Linked DNA regions of Homo sapiens: region 1 is linked to region 2. Evidence: promoter capture Hi-C in 16 types of primary human blood cells and fetal thymus (Javierre and others, 2016). All regions are on one chromosome and are shown on one strand. Each heading gives the region's core, a stretch centred on a gene start or on the middle of the fragment in contact. The rest is flanking DNA. Distances are from core to core; before and after follow the strand shown. Region 1 overlaps ENOX2 (ecto-NOX disulfide-thiol exchanger 2). Region 2 holds the start of GPR119 (G protein-coupled receptor 119).

The links. Contacts are between HindIII fragments. The CHiCAGO score rates a contact against its expected background, and 5 or more counts as called.
Region 1: a contact is called between a fragment that was not itself captured here and the fragment with the promoter of GPR119 in region 2, in 7 of 17 cell types (naive B cells, total CD8 T cells, fetal thymus and 4 more). The highest score is 8.6, in naive B cells.

Annotation. Positions count from the first base shown.
Region 1 is chrX:130,883,831-130,890,638 of GRCh38, reverse strand. All of the region lies in intron 2 of ENOX2 (ecto-NOX disulfide-thiol exchanger 2), which reads left to right. Among named protein-coding and RNA genes, the nearest start is that of ENOX2, 16 kb to the left of the region's middle. The HindIII fragment of the contact is 158 bases long and covers 4,091-4,248 here.
Region 2 is chrX:130,382,270-130,389,266 of GRCh38, reverse strand. It overlaps GPR119 (G protein-coupled receptor 119), which reads left to right and starts at 3,593. Exons shown (of 2, transcript NM_178471.3): 1 at 3,593-4,831; 2 at 6,716-6,997. The coding sequence starts at 3,820. The coding sequence ends at 4,827. The HindIII fragment of the contact is 2,318 bases long and covers 3,300-5,617 here.

The DNA.
Region 1 (6,808 bases), core at 2,920-5,419, 500 kb before region 2:
CTTTGTTCTGGTTCAAATCAGCTTGCTAGTTTTTGTTGCTTTCAAACTGTTACAATTTCTGTTTTGTTTGGAATTTAGCAAATTAGTTCTGTGTCTTCCCGTTTAAGTTCATGGTTTGGTTCAAGTTCTTAGTTCTTTGAAATCTTCCACTAGGACTTTTGTTTTTGACAAAAATACTCAGAATCTGGGGTGGCTAGTGATGGAAATTCATTTGAAAAAAATCAGTCAGGCTTGGTGACGGCTGCCGAGGAGGAGCTTGGGTGGTTTAGGGAACCATTAGTGCTTACATTCTGGAGCTTGAAATCGGGATAATGGAAACAGTGCAATGGTTTTTGGTATGCGTGTTTGTTTTTATAAGGATGCTTTCATTGCCCTTCTTGCTAACCTGGGTTGAAACTACTGCCTCCCACCTCATTGCCTTTTGGGACACTCTGTCAGTCATATTCCTCATTTTTTGACTGTCAGAAAGAAGCTAACAAAAAAAAAATCATCTTTCCTGTCCTTTCCCTTTACTTTGAATGGCCCTTCTGAGGAACTTGGGGAATATGAATTTCAAGCTTAAATTTGTGAAGGAGTTTAGTTGCAATGCCCAAAGGGAGAACAGTCCTATTCTGAAATACAGCCTTTGTTCCTTTCTTACCAATGTGGTTTTAAAAGTCACAGGCAAGCCTCCTTTGCTGAACCTGAAATTGGACTGACACCTTCCTTAGTGGGCAGCCATGCTGCCAGTGAGGCTGTGGTGGACGGTAGCAGGGATGAGGCCTCTGGAGAATTGTATCCCACCTGACTCACTTTCTGAATGGCAGAGGAAAGTGAGATCTGGTGCTAGGGCTGTCAGTACCTTTTCAGGCTCTTGACTGTTTCCCTAAGCAGTTGGAAGGCTAGGTTTGCAGCTTTGATGGTTAGGGGGCCACTCCCAATACCTCAAAAGACAAGCACTTTTTATTATAGTAGGTGAGACTTTGGATGATTTCAGCAAGTATGTTTCTGATTAGAAAGCTCTCACTTTAGATTCATTTTCTCTTTTCTCCACCCCTCCCCTCTGTTTCCCTCCTCCTCTCTTGTCTTTTTCTCCCCTTCCCCCTTTCAGCAGCTCACTTGCTCTTAGCTACCAATTACCTGTTATGTGATTAATATTATCCTTTTCCCAATTGGCTTAACATAGATTTTGGATATATATTTTACTGGCATCTTCAGTAGTAGCAATGACGTTCAAAGGGGCAATTAGAAAAAGTTTTCTTTCTTCTTACAAGAAGTAGGATGGGCACTTGTTTGAGGGCACAGATAGCACTGGATGGGACCAAGAGGAGCTGACATCTGATATCCCTGCTCTATCCCCCACCTTTCTTTTGGCTGCTTCAGATTTGGTTCATGTGGACAAACACACTTGGGAACCACCATACAGATGGAAATCAGGACATGTGGGATTTGGCTGAACCAAAGATCCCCAAACATTGCCTGGATCATTTAGTGCCCCAGGTGTGGCCACCCCAGGACTTCATGTGCTAAAATTGTGTCCCAGCTGAAGCCAGCTGGTCACTGTATACATAGGATCAAGGCAGCTTGGAGCCTCATAAAGCATAACTTTGGATTTTTACCTTGTGGATTTAGATTTAGTTAATCACCTTGAATCCTCCCCCAACACACTGGGCAATGAGGATGTAACAGGCAAATAGAAAGCTTGAACAAAAGGAGATGCTCATTATCTAGTAGTTTGCATTCCAGATGGGACATAATGCTAGACCATATGAAGAAAAATGGACTGACTTTCCAGAAAGGAAAGAGAGAATTTAGAGGGCTCCAGTCTCTTTAATAAACTTTTGATGTATTATTTTAAAATTTTCTCAAAAACGTTCCCTGCTATAGAATTTTAAGAGCAAACAGCGATTCCGTCTAATTTAAAAATTGTAAGAATTGAGCAGTGTTTCATGAAATTATATTAGTTCTTTCTTTTTATTTGCCTTATGTGATAGAGGTGCCTCACTTCAATCATTAAGGCAAGATTTGTTTAGGGCATGGTAGTAATAATCCCATACAATTGTATAACCCTTTACAATTTACAAAAGGGTTTTCATACCTATTATCTCATTAGCTGTTCACAGCAATCCTGTGAGACAGTCAGGATAGGTACTATTATCTCCAGTTAACAAATAAAGGGAACTTAGGCTCAAAGAAGTTAAGTGACTTGGCCAGAGTCACATAGTTAGAAAGTTGTAGAACTGGAAGCTGAACCCAGGTTTCCTGATACCCAGCCCCAGTGCTCCTTCGGTTGTATCATGTTTCCTCCCAAAGACACTATCTCCTTTTTGTTCCTACTCGTGATTAATTTTAAAATCCGTCTAAAAATGAGCTTTAGTTTAGTGGATGAGTAAAACTGAAGCACTTACATGTAAAGTGCTTTCTCAAGTCACCTAATGAAGTGGGTCCTGCACATAGCTCTTGGCTTTTCACCTTCATTTTAACTGAACTATTTTTAGGTAGACATAGATTTGTTTTTCAGTGTTAAATATATGGACAAAAGTTGTGTGATCCACTGATTATAGGTGTGAAAGCTGCGCTTGGGGAATGGGACTAGGGATGAAGAATTGCCTTAAAATAATTAGCTTCTTGCCTTTGTGTTAAGAGATGTCATGTTCAATAGAATTTAATTTCTTTATACTTCCTTTGCTTCCAGCCTTTTAAAAATACAATTCTTTAGGGAAAATTAGCAAATATTCATTCTGAATGTTGATTTCTCAGGAATAAGGGTAGCCAGAGGAAAGAAAAAGCAAAGGGGTGACTTTCTGTGCCCTGTAAGAGTGGGCAAACATTATTTTGTTTGGAGCTGTGAGCTAAGATTTCTTCCAAGGCATGCAAATCGTAAAGTTCTGATTTGTCAACTGCATGCTGTTTCTTTAGGCACTGATGTATGAAATCCCGAACGAATTCTCCAATGAACATACTGCTAATTGCTTCTCCACCTGCTCTCCAACCTCCTCCACCCCACCCCCTCCACTCCCAATTCAGCCTATAAGTGTCCGTCATTGGAGATGGATGGTGACACATGCAGTAATAGCAATTCATAAAAGCCAGTTCCAGCCCTTGTCTTCAAGGCTCCTGGATTTTCCACTGCCTGCTTTTGTGTAAGTGAAGTGGATGGAAGTGCTACTGGCATCAGAATCCTCCTCCCTATGCTCCGTTGCTGAAGCTCAGTTGCTCGGCTGGAGCTGAGCTAAACAGAAGCGTCAGATCTAAGCTGAATTATAGCTATTTTTCTTTTTCCTCAATGGGGTGGGTGGGTTAGGGATAGGGTATAGTGGGGGTTTGGGGTGCTTTGGCTTTTCTTCTTGTGGAGAGAAGAGGGTAAGGAGAGAATAACTCACGATAGGATACAACGTGAAACAGTTCCCTGAAGAGTGTCACAATGTTCCTGGTACAATATACAGGTATAGTATGTTTTGTTTTATCTGAATTTCCCCTTTGTTTCAAAGTGCATTTCTTTCTTTTATTTTTCCTTCAGTTCAACTGTACTGAAGGACAAATAGGGTTCTAATGAGCTAAACAAAATAGCTGCATAAAACATGCCTGCCCCCAGCTATAATGTTTGTAGCAGATTGCTGTATAAAATCTGCGTTTTCTGTTAAACTGGTAGTCCCGATCCCTTAATTGTGCACGCTTCTCTGCTGTATTCTTGTATTGAATTTCTCAAGTCTTATGTCTGCAACTGGTAGTATGTGATATAGCTTAGAGTGTTTGCACAGAAGACAGTGCTTTGGAAGCAAAAAGCAATTTTTAAACACTTAGTGTGTTATGTTTCTCTAGAGTTTATTAACTCCTGTATTTGTTAATTGGTTGTATAGATTTGGGATATACCTAAGAGTAGGGAAACTTCAAACAGGAAGCATTCCAGGACACATCTGTTTGGTAAATTTAGTTATTTTTCATTACTGAACTCAGGTTGATGAACATTATATATTATTGTTGTTTGTTTATTCTCCTGACAGAAAAAAAAAAGTGCTGGAAACAGCAAAGCTACAAATACGAGCCCCAAACCATCTGTATTGTAAAATATCCTTGGATCAAAAGTGTTTCTTAAGTATTCTCTTAAGCTTTCAGAAACATAATGGTCCATAATAATGAAGAAGATTCTGATCAGGTATGGGCGAATGTTTTTTGAAAGGCTTCTTACACAGCAGTTAGACAGAAAGGTCCCTTGCAAATGAAAAACCCTGAGAAAGTTTCACTTTCTTGCTTCACAGAACAGAAGCTTAGTTCCTACAACCACGTTGTTTTGATAAGTTTGAATATCATTTGTTGTCAAGGACTTTCATCTCCATTGTTGCTTTATTATTCTTAAAATATTATGCTCCTACGCTTAACAGCTAAAAGATCATGTTCTATTTTGATGCGTGGTTTGACAGTTGATTTCGCTCCTCATTAATTGGACAGCATGCAGATGATGTGGAGAAGTGAGTGAGTGACAATATTTCAAGGTTACGTTGAAGAGCATACAGTGAACCTTAGTGCCTGGACCAACAGCTGCTGAATTGAATTGTCTGCAATTAAAGCAACAGCAGGTTTGTGTAGTCTCCCTGCAGCCCATTTATTTGAATTTATAGCTTCAGTTTCTTCTTTGAGTATTGGTTGGTTGGTTCTGCTAAGTGTTGGAAAGTTGTGCTTGCTGGATGTTTTCTCTGTATTCCAATGCATGCTTGACTCTAGAAGAGCCTTCTGTGTACATTTTAATGTGAGAAGTTGTTGAGGCTTTTTTCTTACGGTTAAAACCAGAGATTGTCTTATTTTCTCCACTATAAAATTAAATAGATTTACATGGAAAATATTGCTTTGTTGAATAAATAGAGATTTCTCATGGACCAGTGTTACTGGTTTAAGTTTCTGGCAATGAAAAATGCTGGACTTTGTTATGCTACTGGAATTACTATATCTGGGAAGAACTTCTCTCTGCTAATAAAAATGTTTACATTTTAAAAACGACATTATCTCCTTGCCAGCTCTCAATTCCACAGTGACCTAATGAATAATTTCAAATCTAACTAGGTGGCTTTTATGACTGTATTTTATTTGTATGCTAATAGTGAATACATGTTTAATTCCTTAATGGTTTTACTCTATTAAAAATTACAATATTAGTGTAGTTGTTGGTTACTGAATGATAGTGGATGTGGTATAAAACATTTAGACAGTGATTTAATATATACTTTCTTAGTTCATTCTCAGTAAGTGTGAGGTCAGTGATATGATCTCCATTTTATAGGTAAGAAAACTGAGACTCAGGATGAGTAACTGGCCTGAGGTCTCCATCTAAGTGCAGCCTAAACTTACAGGTTACATTATCTGATTAAAGAATCTGTGCTTTTTCCTCCCTGATATCAGGCTGCCTCTCGGTTGATGGGTGCCAGGTAAATGTGACTTATGCTACTAGAGAAGGAGGATAAATTTGGTCATTTACTGAAAAATGTATTCTTGGATAGGACGCTAGAGATGTTTTCAAAACTATTTTTAGTCTAGCATTTATTTGAATATGTGTGTGATTTCAAGATTAATTTTACAGATGTGTAAGAAACACTAGTGTTTTGATTAATGTGTACATCAATATGAATGAAAGTAGAGCTTTGTGAAATTTTGGGGAAGCAAAATGTTGTCTATTCCAAAAGGTTAGTATGGAGTATTTTCTCTTCTAAAAAGCTAGTTTGTTTGTACTGTTGTACTGGATGAACTTATAAGATTGTTTCCATGAAAGTATATGTATTTTAAGATATACTGGCTATGAATGTGAAGTGCTATATGTTTTTGAAATTTGAGTATTTTGTCCAGATCAGCAGAAAAAATATACAGCTAATTCAGGTTCACACTTTTCTTTCTTTCTGTCTGTCTCTGTCTCTGTGTCTCTCTTTCTCTCTCTCTCTCTCTCTCTCATAGATCAGCATTCTTATCTTTTAAAATTTCCAAATGGTTTCTCAATTTTAAATTAATTAGTTTTAAGGGAAAAAATGCTTTTTGTCCCACTGAAGAAAGGAATACTATTTAAAGCCACATTATCAATTCATCAAATGAACCCAACTACTTGAATGGCTCATACAAGCTCTCTGGTAAAACTTTCTTTAGGACCCCTTCAGTAAACATTCTTGAAGGGGCCATTTTTATATCTGAATTTATTAGAGACTGTCCCGTGTACTAGATTAATGACTCGATGTTCACGCCATAGACAACTCTTCTTCAGCATTTGACAATGAACATTTGAGAATGTTGATAAGAAAATGGGCCAGAGATAGAGCAAGTATTGTTATAATCTGTTTATGAGACTTTAAGATGGTAATGAATATATTATCTCAGATACCATGTAATTGGAATTTACCCTTATCTAAGATGGTATCTTTATATTTTAACATGTCTTAAAGTAAATCTGTCCTCATATTATTTCCTTCTGGCAAAAAAGAAAGGAGGATGATATGAAGCCCTTTTATCATTCTTTAGACTTAAATGAATTTGACACTTAAAAAATACAGGTGGGAACTTCGGGGAACAGATCAGGATTAGAGGAAGGAGAACTGGGCAAACTAGGCATGAAATTGGAAGTTCCATATTAAACTTGGTTTCAGGTGGCAAATGTCCTACGTAGTTGGAAGCTCTGGCTAACATCCCTCACTGTGTTCCTTTTTCTAGGAATAGGCACTCTGAATATAAATGAAAAAGAATTTATTGGGGCTTTTAAAGAAATTGACATTTTCTTATTGGCTAAAGAAAAAGTCTTTCATCTACAAAATAGTTACTTTTTCCTTGTCTTGTTTGAGGCCAAGAAAAATTCAAG
Region 2 (6,997 bases), core at 2,344-4,843:
TGCGTCAGCCTCCCGAGTAGCTGGGATTACAGACACCCATCACCACGCCCAGCTCATTTTCATATTTTTAGTAGAGACTGGGTTTCGCCATGTTGGCCAGGCTGGTCTTGAACTCCTGACCTCAAGTGATCTGCCCGCCTCAGCCTCCCAAAGTGCTGGGATTACAGGCGTAAGCCAGTGTGCCTGGCCGAGCTTCTGCATTTCTAACAAGCTCTCAGGTCATAACAATGCTTCTGATACACACTTTGATTAACAGTGTGTTAATTTGATTAGCAGAGACTAGAAGACACTGGATACCCATGTAACATTTTACACTTTATGAAGCCTTTTCATAACTATCATACCTCATTTTTAAAAATTTATTTTTATTTATTTTTATTATACTTTAAGTTCTGGAATACATGTGCAGAACGTGCACGTTTGTTACATAGGTATACATGTGCCATGGTGATTTGCTGCACCCATCAATCTGTCATCTACATTAGGCATTTCTCCTAATGCTATCCCTTCCCTTGCCCCCCACCCGCCCAACAGGCCCCTGGTGTGTGATGTTCCCCTCCCTGTGCCCATATGTTCTTATCATTTTTCAGCTCCCACTTATGAGTGAGAACATGTGGTGTTTGGTTTTCTGTTCCTATGTTAGTTTGCTGAGAATGATAGTTTCCAACTTCATCCAAGTCCCTGCAAAGGGCATGAACTCATTCTTTTTTATGGCTGCATAGTATTCCATGATGTATATGTGCCACATTTTCTTTATCCAGTCTATCATTGATGGGCATTTGGGTTGGTTCCAAGTCTTTGCTATTGTGAATAGTGCTGCAATAAACATATGTGTGCATGTGTTTTTATAGTAGAATGATTTATAATCCCTTGGGTATATACCCAGTAATGGGATTGCTGGCTCAAATGGTATTTCTGGTTCTAGATCCTTGAGGAATCACCACACTGTCTTCCACAATGGCAGAATTAATTTACACTCCCACCAACAGTGTAAAAGCATTCCTATTTCTCCACATCCTCTCCAGCATCTGTTGTTTCCTGACTTTTTAATGATTGCCATTCTAACTGGCATGAGATGGTATCTCATTGTGGTTTTGATTTGCATTTCTCTAATGACCAGTGATGATGAGCATTTTTTCATATGTTTGTTGGCTGCATAAATGTCTTCTTTTGAGAAGTGTCTGTTCATGTCCTTCACCCACTTTTTGATGGGGTTGTTTTTTTCTTGTAAATTTGTTGAAGTTCCTTGTAGATTCTGGATATTAGCCCTTTGTCAGATGAATAGATTGTAATAATTTTCTCCCATTTTGTAGGTTGCCTGTTCACTCTGATGATAGTTTCTTTTACTGTGCAGAAGCGCTTTAATTAGATCCCATTTGTCAATTTTGGCTTTTGTTGCCATTGCTTTTGGTGTTTTAATCATGAAGTCTTTGCCCATATCATACCTCGTTTTATCATCCTCACAACCTTGTGATATAACTATGACTGTCCCCATGTTACACATGAGGAAACCAAGGACAGTGGTTCTCAACCCTGGCTGAATATTAGAATCACCCAAGGAACTTTTAAAACTCCCATTGCACAGTTACCACCCAGAATAATTATGTTAGAATCTCTTGGTGTGTGGCCCAAACAGCAGTATTTTTTGGAATCACCAGGTGATTCCAATGCACTGCTAAGGGTAAGAACCATTGCACTAGAGCAGTGCTTCTCAAAGTGTGGTCCCTGAGCAAGTAACAGCAGTATCTGGGAACTTGTTCGAAATGCAGATTCTGGCCAGGCACGGTGGCTCACGCCTGTAATCCCAACACTTTGGGAGGCCCAGACAGGTGGGTCACCTGAGGCCAGGAGTTCGAGACCGGCTTGGCCAACACGGTGAAACTCCGTCCCTACTAAAAATACAAAATTAGCTGGGCGTGGTGGCTGCACACCTGTAATCCCAGCTACTCAGGAGGCTGAGGCAGGAGAATTGCTTGAACCTGGGAGGTGGAGGTTGCAGTGAGCTGAGATCACACCATTGCACTCCAGCCTGGGCGACAAGAGCGAAACTCCTTCTCAAAAAAAAAAAAAAATAAAAATAAAAATAAAAAAGAAAAGAAAGAAAGAAATGCAGATTCTCAGACTCACCAATGACCTGAAACTCTGGGAGTAGGACCCAAGAACCTGGGTTTTAAGACACCCTCCAGGTGATTCTGATACACTCTCAAGTTTGAACATGGGTTTGAAAAGGGCTAACTTGACTCCGTGGAGTCAAGAGCTGGGGAAACCCAAGCACACCTTAGGTCCAGGTATAAAATTAGGCTAGGTTCTAAGCAACTGGAATCAATCTCCTAATGGACATACCAAAGAATAAGAACTGTTTTCAGGATGGCAACTAGAATACTGAATCCCCACAACACAGTCTTTCTGATCCTTTTTTAGGAGAGACATCTGCCAAAGGCCCTCTCAGACTGTCAAAACATCCTGGAATATATTTGCGTCCAACTCTGCACCTTGCTCTCTATTCCCTCACTTCAAACACTAACCTTTCCCATTTGTGCTCTCACCTGAACTGAGTAAATAAGCTTCTAACCACTCTTCTCCCCACCCCTCTCTTCTTGGTATCCAAGATGAGAGTGGCAGGCGAAAGGGTAGTTCTAATGTACCCAAGCAAATGGATACACATCCTAAAACAGGAGTGACTTATGCAGCTGCCCCTCCAGAGTGCATCTCACCTGCTTCAGCAACACAGTTGCCCTTTGGTCTAACCTCCCCCCCTCAACCGCCCCCACGTTCCTATTCCTGGAAAATGGAAAATTCCATAGCCAAACATCAAGCAGACACTTCCCAGAATGCAGCTCATCTCCTCTTCTCCTCCCGCAGAGATACCTCAGGTCTATAGGATTAAGAAAGGCAAGCCCAGCAGCCACTACTCACTGACCAGACCTGGCCCAACATGCTGCAGAAATAATTATCAATTAGTATACTTGAGAGACAGCAGCGTGAGGTGGAGAATGGGTTCTAAACTGAATGACAGCTGTTAACAGTTTTTGGCCCTGTTTTTCCTGTCCTGAATCCTCAACTGAGATCCTAGGGATGAGAAACGGGGGAACAGCACGCCCTACTTGAGAGAATTAGAATTTGAGGCGCTAGGAAGCAAAAGGTAAGAAACAGCTTAAATGTGTGGTAGCACTCCTGAAAATATGCTGGGGCCCCTCAAAAAGCTCACCTTCCCTCACTTCCCACTTCAACTGATTATGAGCATCTTGCTTGATTAAAAGCAATTCATAATAGTAATTGAGAATTAGTAAGAAAAAGCTTAATTAAGCTGAGATTAATTATTTAAGCTGGTACTCGAGGTTTTGGAAGAAAAGTAGAAATTTAATGTCAAGGTATGGAGGAAGAAAAAAGTATGATTGGAGTCAATTATATCTTTTGACAGACAGGAGACCTGATGAATGTCCCTGTCCCTCCAGAGTCCCTGAAGCACCAGTGAAGGGAGAGGGCCTGGCGAGACAGCATGTACAGGTACTTGGGAGTTGTCTAGTAACTTGCTGGTTGGAGGGGGAGGGACTAGCTCAGGGCCCAGGGGGAGGTCTATACTGAAGTTGCTGCCTTTAGAGAGCTGGAGAGGCAGGAGGCTGAGGACTGAAAAGAGAGGGTGAGTAATTCTTCATGACCTGTAGGATCCCAAAGATGGCGACCTGCCAGCCTGGACTGCCAGCGAAGGCCAGAATCGTGCTGTAGCTCTGAACCCACAGCTCCTCTGCCCCTGGCCCATGAGAATTTCAGCTGGAGAGATAGCATGCCCTGGTAAGTGAAGTCCTGCCACTTCGAGACATGGAATCATCTTTCTCATTTGGAGTGATCCTTGCTGTCCTGGCCTCCCTCATCATTGCTACTAACACACTAGTGGCTGTGGCTGTGCTGCTGTTGATCCACAAGAATGATGGTGTCAGTCTCTGCTTCACCTTGAATCTGGCTGTGGCTGACACCTTGATTGGTGTGGCCATCTCTGGCCTACTCACAGACCAGCTCTCCAGCCCTTCTCGGCCCACACAGAAGACCCTGTGCAGCCTGCGGATGGCATTTGTCACTTCCTCCGCAGCTGCCTCTGTCCTCACGGTCATGCTGATCACCTTTGACAGGTACCTTGCCATCAAGCAGCCCTTCCGCTACTTGAAGATCATGAGTGGGTTCGTGGCCGGGGCCTGCATTGCCGGGCTGTGGTTAGTGTCTTACCTCATTGGCTTCCTCCCACTCGGAATCCCCATGTTCCAGCAGACTGCCTACAAAGGGCAGTGCAGCTTCTTTGCTGTATTTCACCCTCACTTCGTGCTGACCCTCTCCTGCGTTGGCTTCTTCCCAGCCATGCTCCTCTTTGTCTTCTTCTACTGCGACATGCTCAAGATTGCCTCCATGCACAGCCAGCAGATTCGAAAGATGGAACATGCAGGAGCCATGGCTGGAGGTTATCGATCCCCACGGACTCCCAGCGACTTCAAAGCTCTCCGTACTGTGTCTGTTCTCATTGGGAGCTTTGCTCTATCCTGGACCCCCTTCCTTATCACTGGCATTGTGCAGGTGGCCTGCCAGGAGTGTCACCTCTACCTAGTGCTGGAACGGTACCTGTGGCTGCTCGGCGTGGGCAACTCCCTGCTCAACCCACTCATCTATGCCTATTGGCAGAAGGAGGTGCGACTGCAGCTCTACCACATGGCCCTAGGAGTGAAGAAGGTGCTCACCTCATTCCTCCTCTTTCTCTCGGCCAGGAATTGTGGCCCAGAGAGGCCCAGGGAAAGTTCCTGTCACATCGTCACTATCTCCAGCTCAGAGTTTGATGGCTAAGACGGTAAGGGCAGAGAAGTTTCAAAGTGCCTTTCTCCTCCCCACTCTGGAGCCCCAACTAGATCAGCAGGAGCTAGGGGGATGAGAGCACTTGCTTCAGGCAATTGACCCCTGTCCCAGCATCCCCCACCCCCAGACTGACAGGTAACTGAGGCAGAGTCCTGACTTTCTTCTATAATCAGTTTCCCCATTTTCAAATCGCCACTCCTCCCTGTCCTTCTTTTGAAATGAGCCTGTCTCTGGTGTACAGGTACACTTACTTAAAGCAAGAAATGTACTGCTAAAAAGATGCTTATAGATCAAATTCTATTTTTGAGTATACCAGAGCAGCACTGTCCAACAGAAATATAATGTGAGCCACACGCATAATTTTACATGTTCCAGTAACCGTTTTATAAAGGTAAAAAGAAACAGGCAAAACTAATATTTTATTTATCCCAACGTAACCAATATATTGTTTTCAACATGTCATCAATATAAAAATTATACTGGTTTTTTTTTCATACTAAGTCCTTGAGATCTGGTGTGTATTTTGCCCTTACAAAACATCTCAATTTAAACTAGCCATATTTCAAATGCTCAGTAGCCACATGTGGCTAGTGGCTCCCATACTGAACAACACTAGAGAAATGAGGTTCTGTTATTTTTAAGTGTTTACTATAGTGACTTACTACAGTAATTGCTTTGGCAAGGTGAGGAGTCCCTCCTCCTCCTGCCCTTACTGATATTAATCAGAGATCTTATATGGTGAATGTGCCTAAAAGGTAGAAACCTCAATTCCTCTAAAGCTTGTCTTTTCGCACACCTCATGATGTTTAAAATAGGTTATTTCCCAAAGAAACACTATCTTGTGATTATTTCTGCTGTTACCGGTCCCAATCCACCACCTTTTAACTCTCTGCTGCCCCTTCCCTTAAGATGGCCTCATATGTCACTTGTGGCTACTTGCTGATGACAATGCTGGATCACAAATTCTGAGGCACTGGGAGGGAAGAGAGAGAAAACATGTGGGTACCAAGGCAGGCACAGCCAAGCTCTCCAGACTGGAGCCACTTTGCTCCTCAGGGCTCCTTCCACTTACTCCCAATTTTGCATTTTCCTAAGAAACTGTTGCACAGGAGACCAGCTGAGGAGCAGGTGCCTCATCCTCCTTTCCGTGGGGTACAGAAAATGACAAGGTTGGCAGATGGGAACTATGCTCAGTTTCCCTCTGGGCAACCTGGCAGCAAAAAACCAAGAACAGAATAGCGAAGACACTCAGGAACCACTCTCTGCCTTTCTGAGTTTCCCTGTAACCCTCTCCAAAACCTCCTGGTCTCCACAGTGGATTGCTAGAGAGTTTGGCTCTCAAGACCTTAAACTGTAATATTGCCCCAGAAAGCTGCCAAGTTGACAACAAAAGAGGGCAAGAAGAAACCAAAACAGTATGGATTAACTTGCCTAGGATTTGGTACTGAATTAGGTACCAAATTAGGTACCAACCTTAGGTTGGTTAATCCCTCAATATCCCTAAATTAATGACCTGAGGATGCATTTGAATCCAACGTGTAATGGCTAATTCCAAGAGGCCCTTGAAATTTTTCATTCTAATCACAAATTATAATGTTTAGACCTGGATGGAATCCAGCCACCCTCCTTTCAAAGGATGTCACCACACCACTATGCTTTGCACTCGGATTTTCTTAATTCCCCTTAGTCTTAGATTAACTCCCAGCTTACTTTCCTCAGTCATTCAGAGGATAATGATCATCCTTTTCAGTTTCCCTACTCTTGAGAAAATTTCCTTCTCCCTACCTTCACCCTATATCTTCTTCAGCCCAAATGGCTGTTTCTCATTGATCTATTCTACTACATACACATCAACCCACTTTTGGTAAATTTTTTGCAGTCGCTTTGCTTACCAGTCTGGCCCAGAGGAGAAACATGCTTGCTTTCACCATAGCAAGCATCGTGTTCCTACAACTGAAGAACTTTTTGACTCTCAAGTGGACGATGGAACCCAATATGCCTTGAAATGCTGAGCATCCAGCAAGTACCAGGCCAGCAATAAGGCACATTCTTGGATTGTATTGTGAGTTACTGGGAACTAGGTAAAATACGAATAACTGGATTTTGGACAAAATTGAAAGCAGGCTCAAACCAATGCCCTCCTTACTGGTGGTTCAAAGCT